Linked DNA regions of Homo sapiens: region 2 is linked to region 1. Evidence: promoter capture Hi-C in 16 types of primary human blood cells and fetal thymus (Javierre and others, 2016). All regions are on one chromosome and are shown on one strand. Each heading gives the region's core, a stretch centred on a gene start or on the middle of the fragment in contact. The rest is flanking DNA. Distances are from core to core; before and after follow the strand shown. Region 1 holds the start of KCNK3 (potassium two pore domain channel subfamily K member 3). Region 2 overlaps OTOF (otoferlin).

Evidence for each region. Contacts are between HindIII fragments. The CHiCAGO score rates a contact against its expected background, and 5 or more counts as called.
Region 2: a contact is called between a fragment that was not itself captured here and the fragment with the promoter of KCNK3 in region 1, in 1 of 17 cell types (M1 macrophages). The highest score is 5.2, in M1 macrophages.

The regions. Positions count from the first base shown.
Region 1 is chr2:26,687,086-26,694,320 of GRCh38, reverse strand. KCNK3 (potassium two pore domain channel subfamily K member 3) reads right to left here and starts at 1,599. Exons shown (of 2, transcript NM_002246.3): 1 at 1,163-1,599. The coding sequence starts at 1,445. The HindIII fragment of the contact is 28,883 bases long and covers 1-3,959 here.
Region 2 is chr2:26,526,876-26,533,308 of GRCh38, reverse strand. It overlaps OTOF (otoferlin), which reads left to right. Exons shown (of 47, transcript NM_194248.3): 3 at 5,389-5,477. Among named protein-coding and RNA genes, the nearest start is that of OTOF, 29 kb to the left of the region's middle. The HindIII fragment of the contact is 3,244 bases long and covers 2,509-5,752 here.

The sequences.
Region 1 (7,235 bases), core at 350-2,849:
AAAGACAGAGGAAACTGCTTCTGGAGGCATCTCAATGGGCTTTGGGGGAAGGTGGGTTTCATCTCAGAATCCAAGCACGTCGGGGCTGGGGAGGAGCTCTTGAGATCATTTTGGCCACCCCTCCTTGTCTGGAGGTGAGCCTGAGACCCAGACAGGGGAAGGGACTTGCCCAAGGTCATATATCACGGTAGTGATGGAGCTGGGCTGAAATCATAGGGTGTTGGGGACAGGTAAGGTGTTATTCCCGTCTGGACAGTTTTGAATAGCACCACCAAGGGCCTGGCTAGAGATTCCTTTCCTGGGCAACGTTTGTTCTCTCTCTCTCTCTCTGTCTCTCTCTCTGTGTGTGTGTGTGTGTGTGCCCGCCCTGTGTGTACCCTGTGAGTGCCTGTGTGTATCTGTGTGCATGTGTGCCTATGCCTGTGTTGTCTGACAGTCTGGGTGTACGTGTGGCCTCCTACATGGTGATCTGCCCTGGCTTGGAAAGAACTGGGGTTATTCCTGTGAGGTGACTGTTTTGCTGGGACAGCAGAGAAGAAGGCTGACAAGGCCAGATCTGGCTTCCCGCACCAATTCTGCCGCTCTGAGAAAATCACAGGCACTGACTGGTGGCGACCAAACTCCTGGAGCTGAAACACGCAGACACACGTACACTCACAGCCGCCGTTATAGGGTGGCCCCAAGTGCCCCGAAGTGCCGCATTCCGACATCCTCATGCCTCCCCAGAGCCCAGCAGGTGTAGACCTGCTAGGCTGTGGAAGCCGATCCTCAGGGATACGGAGCACTGGCGCTCTCCCGCCGCTCACTCTCAGCGCCCTGTTCAGGGCCTGGCCCGGCCACACCCCTCCTGCCCGAGCCTCCGCCGGTCGTCCCTGCCCCTCTCACACACTTCGGAGTCCCTGGGGGCCTATGCAACATGGCAGGGCCAAGTTAGGGCTGGCCCGGCCGGAGAGTCAGGTCCGGAGCCAGGAATCGACGCCTCCCCGAGTTCCGTCCCCGCGGAGCACACACGCCAGGCTGAACTCGGGTTTCTGCGAGCGCAGGGTTCGGCGCCCAGCCCCTCTCGGGGGAGCCCCCGCCCCCAGCCCCAGCCGGCCCCGGACGACTCCCGGAGCCCCGCGCCCAGCCCTGGGTTCCCGCCCCCCGCCCGGCGAGCCGTTACCGATGGTGGTGATGACGGTGATGGCGAAGTAGAAGGAGCCGGCGAAGCGCCACTGCACGCCGGCCTTGTGCGGCTTGAGGCGCAGCACGACGCGCTCCAGCTCCTCGTAGCCGCCCTGGCTGAGGTTGTAGCGCGCCCGCAGCTCCTGCTGCCGCAGCTCCAGCCGCTGCCGCTCGATCAGCTCGGGCTCCGACTCCAGCGCGTCGAAGACCGCGGCGCCCACCAGCAGGTAGGTGAAGGTGCACACGATGAGCGCCAGCGTGCGCACGTTCTGCCGCTTCATCGTCCCGCCCGGGCCGCCGCCGGCCCCCCGGCGCCCCCGGCCCGCGCCTCGGCCCCGGCCGCCGCTGCTGCTGCCCCGGAGGCGGCCTGGGGCATGGCTGCGCTCGCCGCTCTCCGCGCCGGGCACCCGCTCAGCGCCCGGGGCCGCCGCCGCCGCCGCCGCCGCGGAGCTGTCCCTTCAGCACCACCCACCGCCCTCCTCCGCCCGGCCCCGCGCCCGCCCCCCGCCCCCCGCCCGCAGGCCGCCTCCTCCCGCCAGCCCTCCCGCCCAGCCAAATAAGGACTGGGGAGACGCGCCGAGGAGGGAGGAGGGGGGCTGGCGGAGGGGACGGGAGGGGCGGCCGCGAGAGAGCCCGGGCAGGACAGAGAGAGAGAAAGAGAGAGAGAGCGAGCCCGAGAGACAGAGAAAACTAGACAGCGAAACGCTGATAACTACGGAGAATGGGAGAAAGGCAGTGTAGGACTGAGGGAAGGGGGCTGTGTGACAGAGGAGGAGATAAAATCAGAGGTGCACTCAGACAGAAAAAGAAGAGAGGCGGGCAGAAAAATACAGAGCAAAAGATGGAAACAGAGAGAGCAACAGACTGAGACAGAGAGGCCTGGATTGCTGGAGATAAACTAATGACAGAGAAACAGACAGGAAGGCAAGGAAGGCAGAGCGAGCCCCTCCCCACCCCACCCTCCACCCTCATCACAGCATATTGCAGCCAGGAGGCACTTGGGGCCTCGCTGTCCTGCCCTTATCCTATGGATGAGGAAATGGAGGCCCAGAGAGGTCAAGTGACACGCATGGGCACGCAGTGATTTCGTGACAGCACTGGGACTCAGCCAAGCGTTCCTTCCTCCCAGGCCACACTCCTTCCTCCCTTGGGCCAGACTCTGGCTGTCTTGGAAGCAGGCAGGGCCCAGCTGTGGACCTGGGCACACATGAGCTGACACCCAAGGGAAAGCCCTGTTCTCAGGCAATGTGTGCCTTCCCAGGTCAGCACAGTTCTTGGAACTGGCTGAGAAGGCACAGGCTGGGAGTCTAGGCCTCCTGCTTCGCTCCCAGGGGCTTCTAGGCTGTCCCGACTCCCATGGTTCCTGTCTTGCACCCGTGCACCAGGCTGGGCTTAGGCTGAGTTGCCAGAGATAGCACCTGCCACCACCTTAGGGCATCCCAGCAGAACCGGGATCTAGCTGGAATTGGGCAGGTGGGGCCCAGAGCAGGAGGCTCACTGGCAGACTGCGGGAACTGGGGCAGGAGAGGGGGTCCCTATGCCTCAGTTTCTTCATTTGTCAAACATGGTGGCTATGGTGGTGAGGTGGGAAGGGTAGTGGAAACTCAGGCATTACTGACCCTCTCAGAGCCTTGTTTCCTTATCTTTTCAACGAGGTGTCGTAGCAGATGATCCCACAGGCCTTGCCCAGCTCTAAACAACTCCAGACTTGGATGGGCTGAGTGAGCAGAATGATTGGAATGCAAATCTCAGTGCCAAGAAGGGTTAAAAAGTCCTTCACAGGACCCTGGCATGGGCCAGGCAGAGAGACAGGGAAGAGACACCAAGGCCCCTGACTGAGAGCAGACTCAGGAGGCAGTCAGCCAGAAGCTGGAGCACTGTCTACCCACAGGCTGGGCTGACCTGTCACTGCCGGACACTACACTCCTCCAATGACACCCCAGAAGTGCCACCAACCCCTTCATTCCTTCAACAAGTATTTATTAAGCATCTGTTGTGTGTCAGGGATTCATCATCTCTGGTCCTCACCACAATCCTGAAAGGTAGGTGTGGTCATGCCTATTTTATAGATGGGGAAACTGAGGCTAAAGGCAATGTAGAGAATCAGTAAATTTCACTCAGCTGGGAAGAGGCTTCAGTCTGTCTGCCTCTTAAGCCCATGCTCTTTGCCATGACTCCTTGAGTCTCTCTTTTTTTTTTTTCAATTTGTAAAGTGGAATAGATAATAATATTAGCTCTACCCGCGTCTTGAACCATTTGTTTTGAGAGATCAAAGAAGAACACATGTGTGCAAATCAGATGATATGAGGCTCTCTAATGACTTCAGAGCCCAATGGGAGGGTCCTACATTTATAGCACCATGTTCCCCCTCCCTCTTCAAGGGAAGATCTTTGTTTCTTTGCAGGCACAGAATTTCTGGTCTTGCCCTCTGACCAGCAACTCAGCCTATTGCAGGCTTTTCCCCTTTGCATCTTCTGGCTCCCTGGAAGGAAAGTACTGCCTTTCCCAGCTTCTCAGAGGTGAAGGTACAAGTTAGGTTCTGTGCATTTCTGATGTATTGGCTCCTGGTGACAGTCACCCCAGAAGCGAATTCCCCCAAAGCCTGTCTAGATGAGCAAGAGGGTTGCTAGACCAGGTTTTCAAGGTGAAAAGGCTGTGTCCAGGTTCTGCTTGCTTGTGACTGCCAGGCCAGACAGCTGTACCGATGAAAGGTGATATTATGAGTGAAAGAGCTTTGGAAAAGGGAAAAAGCTGTCTTTAGGGGCAGGGCATGTATTATTAATCATGATGAAGCTTTTTCTCTGAGCACTTCAATACTGAAAGGACCTTTAGAGATCATTTAGCCCAACCTTCTCATGTTACATATGAGGAAACTGAGGCCCAGACAGTAGGAAGAGTGTTGTCCAAGGTCACACAGTGAGTGAGGGGGAACCAGGACTCATGTCCCAAGGTTGGCACTTTCTTGTTGCACCTATTATGTGTGGGACCAGGGCACCTATCAGTGGGGAGGCCCTGAAGCCCAGAGGGCAGCCTAGGTCTCCTTCTTCCTGCCCCTCCTCTCTCCTTCTCTTGGGGAGAAGGTTCTGGAATAGGAGCCATGTTGGTACCAGTCTAGGTTTCTGAGTAGCCCCTGGGACTTGTAGGCAACCTGGGTCAGATTGTGCCAAAGACATATCAGCTTATCCCATTTCTTCCCATCCTGGGCTCCTCAGACCTGCCTGTGCCTGCCCAGTGTCAACCTGTCTCTGCCACCTGTTTGCTCTGGCATTGGGGGCCAGTCGCTCCTTCTCCTTGAGGCTTGCTGCTCATCCATCAGTGGAGGGGTCTGGACCAGGAAATGTCCACACTCCCTTCATTTATAGCATCCCATGACCTTCCCGGACTCTGTTTCTCTAGTTCTCCCAATAATCAGACAAAAAGAGGAAATAGCACTACTTTTAAGATTCTAGTTTGTGAGGAAAGGGACACAGAGTTAGGTAGGATAAATTGAACAGAATGTGTCATTAGTTACTATATTTTATTATATACTAACATCATACACAATTATTAACCAGCTTTATCTTCCAGTCCATTCTTCTCTAAGTTCTAAACACATCCAAGTACTTCCATGCTTCACATGGCTCATGTGGCTCCCATAACCTGGGATGCTGGTGCCTCCTTGCCTTTCCCATCTTCTGTCTGTTGAACTCCTATTCAGGCTCCAAGACCCAGCTTAAAGACCACTCCCTCCATGAAGCATTTCCCAGTTTCCTCTGATCAGAACCACTGGCTCTTTTTGTGCTTCTGCAGCACCCTATCTAAGCATCAACTCAGCAGGTATTCCTCCTGCCTAAAAGATTAGCTGTTCTTTCATATCCATCTTCCCCACTGGCTCATTATCTTCTCCAGGGTGGAGGAAACCCTTCTCACTCATGCTACTCTCCCCGCAGTACTTTGCACCTTAGAGCTGCTCCACATGTTTCCTTGGGTGACTCACTCAAATGAAGGCTTTAAGGATCTCTATACCTGAGTTAGAGACCATCAGTGTCAGAGGGAGAGGGGCACAGATGGCTGAGTCTGCAGGCAGAAAAACCCTGGCAATCTGCTTCTGTGGTTCTCTGAAGAGAGATAGTTCTAAAGCTGGGACAAGCTCTGTCTAGCTTAGGAGAGGAGGATAAAGACAGATGTGTGTCCCAGGGCCCAAGGAAGCATGTGGGAGACAGCATTGAACTAGGAGTCCAGAGGCTGGAGTTTGGTCCCAGTGCTGCCATCAACTACCACCAACTAGTTGGGTGGACTCGGGAAACTCACGTGGCCTCTATGTGTCTCAGTTTCTTTTTCTATAAGACAAAAGCGTTGGCTGTATCCAAAGGTCCCTTCCTGCTCTGACATTCTGGGATGTTAACGAGAGCCCTGGCCATTTGACCAGAGTGGTCAGTGTACAATGGCCAAGAATGTGGCCAGAAGGATGAGAGGCCCAAATACCTCCCTGTCCATTGCTTTCCAGCCCCCTGTATTGGCAGTTTGGCTGGAGGATAGGGGCAGGATCAATGAGGTAGGACCCTGAGTCAGACAAGCTGAAGTTCAGATCCTGACTCCATCAGTTTCTAGACCAGATCCTCACGTGAAATTCAAGTTCGTTTTGTTTAGAGCAGACCATAATCTCCTGTAGGGCAGGGGTAGGGCCTTACTCATGTCTGTAAGCCACAGCTCCTGGCACAGCAGCTGACACAGAGAAGGTGTTTGTAAACACCCCTCTATTTGGTCCAGTTGGCCTGGTGGGCTCAGGTGGGTCAGTAGGGCCTGGGGCCCATGGTTCATGTAGGAGGCAGGGTCCAGAGCCATCTTGACATCAAGCCAGGGTCAGGCCTGAGAAGGGGGAGAGAAGCCCAGAAGCTGCTGCAGAAAGCCCAGAAGGACATTGCTGACACCGAGCGCTGCACCAGGGATCATGGCCTCTGTCTGCAGGTCAATCAGATTTAGGGTGCTTTGGGTATGATTGGGGTGTTTCTTGGTGTATCTCTGTAGGGAGAGAAGTCAGGGGATTAGCCTGGCTTTATGGAGCATAACTGGTCCCAGTGCAGCCGGCTTGCATTTGTCAAGAGACACTATTTGTTTAACATCTCAAGCCCAAATCAAACACAAAAGGCAACTGTTAACAAAGAGAGGCTCTGCGGGCTGTGGGGGAGAGCACACGGGGCTGGGAGTCTGGACACCTGGCCCTGTTCTTAGCCCCGCCCAGTCGTGCTGTGGGTTGGGGAGAAAGGGTTCTCATCTGGGAATGAGGGGTCAAATTCAAAGATCTGTGAGGCCAGCCCTAGGCTGGGACTGGGCTTGGCTCTCCTACTAGTGAGAGTGAGGAACAGCAGGGCTTTGTGGAGTTGCTGTGGGGTCAGGCTTGCTCCTGCTCACAGCAGCCATGGACAGCATGAAGCCGTAGCCCTTATTTCACAGTCTGCATCCCCCGTGTGTGATGAACCCCTGCCCCTAGAGTGGCCTCCTAAGTGGCCTCCATTTCCCTGAGCCTGTGATGAGCATCCTTGTGTATGCGTGCTTAAGGATCTGCAGGGAATTGTTCAGTGGCCACAGTGCTTATGCCTGCTGAACTGGCCCCCAATGCCACAGCAAACATGTGGCAGAGACAGGTTGACACTGGGCAGGTGCAGGCATGTCACTAAATACTGCTGGGCTGTCCTTGGCATGGCAGTCTTGGTTTTCATTCTCCCCAGCAGTGCACAAGATTCCCGCTCTGTCCTCACCGGCACTGGGATGATTCACTTTTCTGACTTTACCATTTGTGTACCTCCCTCCCCACTTTCTACTCATCTCATCCTCTTCCCCCTTTTCCTTTCCTCTTCAATGCCTTCCCCTTCCCACACTTGGGGCAGGGGCTGGGACAGACCCAGCCATTACTGGGGTTTCAGGAAGGCCAGCAGGTGATACAGAGCCAGACCTGGGAGGAAATCAGCCTTTGTTCTCCAGCCTGGAGTGTGTGTGTGTGTGTGTGTGTGTGTGTGTGTGTCTGTGTGTGTCTGTGAGTCTGAGAATTTCAGCTTCAGTCCTTGTCTCCTCTTCCCCTCTTCTTCTGTCTT
Region 2 (6,433 bases), core at 2,881-5,380, 160 kb after region 1:
CCCAACCTTTTTGGCACCAGGGGCTGGTTTCGTGGAAGACAGTTTTTCCACAGACTGGGATGGTGGTGGCTGGGGGTTATTTGGGATGAAACTGTTCCTCCTCAGAACATCAGGCATTAGATTCTCTTAAGGAGTGCACAGCCTAGATCTCTTGCATATGTTGTTCACAGTAGGGTTCACACTCCTATGAGAATCTAATGCTGTCACTGATCTGACATTAGATGGAGCTTAGGCGGGAATGCTCGCTCACCCGCGGCTCACCTCTTGCTGTGTGGCTCTGCTCCTAACAGGCCATGGACTGGTACTGGTCTGTGGCCCGGGATATGGGGACCCCTGCTCTAAAGCTTTGTAGTGCATCTCAATATTTTCCCCCAAACCTATAGCCCTGTCCCTTTAAGGATGCTACCTTGCTGATTTAGGATGGTTCCAGGCCCACTCAGCGGCCAAGCTGGACATAATCCAGATCATTCTCCAAGGTACATCAGGGAAACCTTTTTTGCAGAGTCCTAGATCACTGGGGCTGATAGGATGCAGAACCCTGTGCCCCGGCCAGCACCAGCCAGGTCAGGGCTAAGCCTAGACCAGGAAACTGGGTCAGGACTCAGCACTCCCCGGGCTCCTGAGATCACTCCCTCCAACAGAGGCCCTCTTTCCCTCCCTATCTGTACTACCTACCACCTTGCTTCTGTCAACAGTCCTATCCCAGGCTGCTATTCCAGGTCTGTGTCTGTCTCCAGAACTATCCAGGACCATCCCCAGGACTGAGAAACAACCCTGCATCCCTGCGTTCTGCACAGCGTCATGCACAGAGCCTGGCACACAGCAAGTGCTCAGCAAATGTTCGCCCCCAGCATGGGGCTTGCTGGCTCGTGACATCTTGAGTGACTGTGTTTGGCTTAACTGCTACTTGAGTCCCCCAGCAGTACCAGGCTTCAGGAGAGGATTCAGTGTAGTGGATTAAGCCCTGAGGACTGAACTCCAGACTAAGCATCCTGAGACTTGAGTTTGAATCCTGCCTCTGCCACCAACCAGCCTTGTGCCCGCGGGCAACTCTCGCCTCTCCACTTTCCCACTTGTAAAAGGAGCACATCTTTGCCATGTTGCTGTGAGCTTGGTTATGGGTAAATGTGCTCTGGAAGTACTAAGTCCTACCCAGATGAAATTCTTCCTTCAGAAGCCCTTTTCCTTCAGTCTTTTTTTTTTTTTTTTTTTTTTTGAGGTGGAGTCTTACTCTGTCACCCAGGCTGGAGTGCAATGGTGCCATCTGGGCTCACTGCAACCTCTGCCTCCCAGGTTCAAGCGATTCTCCTGCCTCAGCCTCCCAAGTAGCTGAGATTACAGGCATGCACCACCACACCTGGCTAATTTTTGTATTTTAGTAGAGACCGTGTTTCACCATGTTGGCCAGGCTGGTATCAAACTCCTAACCTCAAATCATCTGCCCACTTTGGCCTCCCAAAATGCTGTGTTTGCAGGTATGAGCCACTGCCCCCAGCCCCCTTTCCTTCAATCTAATAGCTCACAAGTTCAATACCATAGTCAGGAGAGGAGTGTAGCTCCCAAACCCTCAAAATCCTCATCTCGTCTTGCTGTGTTCTCAGCATATCACCCCAAATGGAGGAAAGGACATAACCACAAAAATGAGGAGACAATGAAAAATGAAATTAGGGAAGAGAAGATGCAGTGAAAGAGACACGTGAAATCCACAGGCCGAGGCAGAAGAGGAAAGTGATGGCGGCGAAGGGGAGGGAGGTGGCATGACAAGGAGACAAGGCAGTTGCAGACCTGCACAGAGTTCCCACTGGGAAGATCTAAACTAAACACATTCTGCCGTGCTGTGTCACTTACGACTGCTGTCACCTGTGAGATCCCATTTGATTCTCTCAATAGCCCTCTAAGGTAGATATTGTCACCCCCCTCTTTTCACAGATGGGGAAGCTGAGGCACAGCTAGTGAGTGGCAGAGCCAGGGCTAGAACTCAAGTCTCCTGACTCAAACTCAGAGTTTCTGCAACACCACGGAGACTCCCAGTCTGCGTGAGATACAAGCCTCGGTGTTGTCAGAAGAACAAAAAAGAAGCAAAGGGTGGGCATGTCCTTTGGAGCTCTGTGAGGTGCCCAGAGCTCACAGAGGCTGCCTCAGCAAAGGAAGGTGTCAGCAATGGGAGATGGGGCTGGAAATGCTGTCTGGGCACAGCAAGGGGGCCTCTGGGTGCTAGGAAGGGGAATCCCCACCTCTTTCAGGGAGCTGTAGAGGAGCCACTGAAAAGTTTTAACAAAGGAGAGATAAAAAGAGAGGAAAATTCAACCCCAAAAGTCTCCTTCTTACAGCCCATGCCTCTACTTCCAGGGAGGCCAAATGGGAGTAACCCCCAGTCCCAGACCCTGAGTCACTTCCCTCCAGCCAAGAGGCCCGTCACCCTCCGAGGCCCCACACTGATGCCAGGACCCCACCTAGAGGTGCCGGCTTGATCGGTCTCCAGGCTGGGCCTTGGGATTTTTAAAAGCTTCTGGAATGGATTGCAGTTCCAGCCAAGATGAAGAACCCCTGAGAAAGACAGAGGGAGACAGAGACAAAGGGAGAGATAGAGACAGAGAGAGAAACTGATGAAAGAAAACAGATGTGGTGAGGAGAAGAAAGCAGACGAATGATGCGGGAGGGAAGGAAAAGAAATGAGGGGAAAGCCTCGTGTGGGTGGAAAATGCGGGAGGGAGACAGGGGAGGAAAGAAAGGAAACTGTAAGGTGGGAGCAAGTCAGAGACCGAAGAAGCTGCTGTGACTCAGTGAGGACCCTGTCTTCTCCCTCACCCGGAAAGCCTCCAAGAAGAACATTCCCCGCTGACATAGGCATGGACTGCCCAGACCCGGCTGACGAATTTCTGAAAGGGCACCTGAGCCACACACCTACACACGCTTCCCCTGATTATTCTCATCTGCAGTCAGGGGCCCCGGAAGCCCCCTGTCTCCTGTGCCCTCCCTGTCCCCCGACTCTCACTCAACAAACTGGCCCTCGCCCCGCAGCCAGGCAGCCTCCCTCCCCAGGTCCCTTAGCCTCAGCCTCCCGCCACCGTTCAACACCCCACCTCCCTTTCACAGGGCCATCTCCAAAGTCATGTCCTTTTTCTCCTGATCTTTCTCTCCTTCCAATGCCAAAATCCCACCCACAGACCCTCAGGGGGACCAATCACCCCTCCCCTCTTCATCCCCAGTAAACCAAATCTCGGTGGCTCCTGCGGCCCCCCGACTCCCACACAGCGCCCTGGCTGATGAGCTGGGCCTTCCTGGGCTGCTTTATTTCCCTGCAGCCCCATAAAAGCAGCTTCATTAAGAAAACCACACACTCTGCTGAGCTGCCAGAGGCATCCAGAAGCTGGAGCCGCAGCCGCTGAATGAGGCCTGTGGGCCGGGCTGCCTCCACTTCCTGGGACTCTCAGCGCACCCCTCCGCCCTGTGCCCACCTCGCCTCTGAAGCCCTCCCTAGGCCCTGCTCAGAACCCTCCCCACCCCACCCCGCAGACCCCTCTCCCGCTCCTCTGCTTCTTCCTCCCTCTCATGCCAAGGCCAGGTCCTCCCTTGCCAGTCCTGAAGGGAGATGTCACAAAGGCCGTTTTCCTGAGACAGGCCCTGCCCACACTGGGCAGTGACCCGCGGTGCTGGCCCAGTGTGCCCAAGCCCTCCAAGTCCCCAGGCTGGGAGAAGGAATCTCAGCTTTGGGAATGGCAAACGTGCAGGGTGGGCTCACAGAAGCCTCCTCCCGAGGGCCTGCTCAGCCAGCAACAGAGTGCTCCAAGTCATGCATCTGCTCTGAGGCCGAGTTCCTTGTTTATAGAGCACAGAAGCCATTACCCACCTCTCCGGCCATTGGAAAGACTAAATGAATGAATATGCACGTAGAGCATTCAGACCTCTGCATAAGAAAAAGTTCCCCAGAAATGGCAGCGATTATTACTATTATTATTTATTACTGGACTATTGAGCAGTCTGAATTTGGTAGGGTATAAAAATGGAACTAAAAAATAAAAAGTCACTGCCTTCTACCAGATCTGTCAAAATCCTCCCTGACACGGTCTCTCCACAGCGTCTTGAGCAGACCTCAGCGTTGTCTGGTCCTGTCCAGAAGGGCTTCCTACTCCAGTCTGGCATCCTGTTCACCCCTGGCCATCCTCCTTCCCTCATGCTTGTGGCTCAGGATGTGGAGTGGGACAGGGACCCCTGCTGAGGCCCTCCACATCCTCCCCTGGTGGGCAGCCCATGGAAAAACTGTCCTCATATCACTCTACCCCACTTGGCCAATGGAGCGCAAATAGATGACTTGCCACAGCCAACAGTGGCAGGCTGGGCTCCTTGCCCTGCTGTACTCTATGGGTCTCCTGCCAGTCCACTGCCCTGCAGATGCCACTGGGGATTTGCATGCCATGCTGCCCCTCTTGCAGGTATCTAATCACCATGAGCTGTTTCCCCAAGAAGTACCACAAAAACACTACGCCTAGGACAGAATTCTTCCCACCTTTCCCTTGCCCAGTCTTCTTTCCCATCCCAGGAAGGTGGGCTGGGTGATGGTTGGAGGTAACAGGGCCTTTGAGGAAGCCCTAGGAAGATGTCTGGCTCTGCCCATTGGCAGCTTTTTACAGAATGGGGCACTGGGCCACTTTAGCCTCTGTTTTGAGCCATTGTTGCCACTTCTAGGGCACCAGGAAAAATCCCAATCAAATTCCTACTCATCATTAACATTGAGTTAGGGAGGAAGCAACGAAGAAGTGGTAAGGGTGAATCTAGAAACAATGAGTTGGGGACAGGCTGTGGGCCTGACCCCAATAACACTAATCAGCTCAAACCTGTCCCCAGTGTTACCACTGGCAGAGTGAGGAGTGGTTTGAACTCAACACAGGAGTCTGGGGCAGAGCCTGTGCCAGTCAGGGTGATTCTGATGAGAGAGAGCTGGAAGCTCACAGCTCCATTCAGCACCCACCAAAAACCAGGCTCACACCCACATTCCTTGCTGTCTCCCTGGGACCCGACCACCACCCTGGTTGCACCACCCTCTCCCAACCCCCCTCAGGAGCTGGGAGGCCATGGAAGCAGCGCTGTGTAGGGAGTCAAAAGTCCTGGTAGGTCCAGGCTCTTCACCTACCACATGACCTTGGGCAGGTCCTCCAACATCTCTGAGCACCATCTTTGAAAGAGGAGTGGGCAACAATGCCGGCTCTACAAGGTGGTTGTTGGAACTAAATGAGATTCCAGGTGTCAATGCTTTGTCCCTGGGGAGCACTGGGCCCAAGTGAGGGGCCACTCTGACTGTTGGAGATCCCCACAAGAGATTCCCCTCCCACACCCCACGGCTCCTACCTGTTATTGCCACCGAAGCCGCAGTTGTCCCTCTCTCCCCAGACATTTCGGTGGCCGGTGGCCAGCAGCATCGACAGAAATGAGATGCTGGAGATTCAGGTTTTCAACTACAGCAAAGTCTTCAGCAACAAGTAAGTGTGGGATGGGGCAGGAGGGGCTGGGCCTGGACGGGCTGGGAGCCTGCTCTTCTCCTTGGGCTACCCTCTGTTTGGGGCTTAAAAAGGGGACCTACACTCCCAACCTGCCCTGGATTGATCTTCAAAGACCGAAGAAATCTTGGGCTGGTCTTTGATCCCCATTTTGATCCCTCTTCTTGTCTTCAGAATCCCCCAGTTCTCCCAGCTGCTGTCAGCCAAGAACACTCCACCCTCCTATCACCTCTGCTGTCTCCAACCCCATCAAAGCTTCCTGTCTTAAAGACTTAAAGCTTTAAGTCTCCCTCAATGCCACGCTGGGGTACAGTTACCCACTGGAGAGGCGAAAGGTGGAGGGGCTGATGATCTCCTCCAAGAGACACTCTGTAGCCCTGAGGGCAGGCTTGACAGTTTGGGGTGGTGGTTTAGGAGTCAGGCAAGCCTGATCTCAGACACTCAGGTCAGTCATCTACTGTGTGACCCTGGAAAGGTTACATAACCTCTCTGATTTCAATGTGCTCATGTGTGAAAAGGACAAGTATTTACCTCAAAGGGCAGCTGTGTGAATTAAATGAGATAGATATTCACTCACTCATTCAACAAATGTTTACTAAGCGTCGATTGTGTATCAGGTACTGAATTAGGTGATGCAGAGGGCGGGGTGCCTACCTTCATGGAGCTTGCACTCCACAAGTGAAGTACACCTGCCATACGAGCGTTATCACTATAAGGTGTTCAATAAAAGTAGTTGTCATCCTTCTCTCTGGGCCATGAGAAGAATTCAGAAGGATTTGAACACGCTGGAACAGTGGCTAAGTAATATCTTGGGTTAAAAAATCACAGCCAGGTGTGGCACACACCTGTAGTCCTAGGTCCTTGGGCAGATAAGGCGGGAGGATCATTTGATCCCAGTAATTTGAGGCTAGCCTGGGCAACATAGTGAGATCCCATCT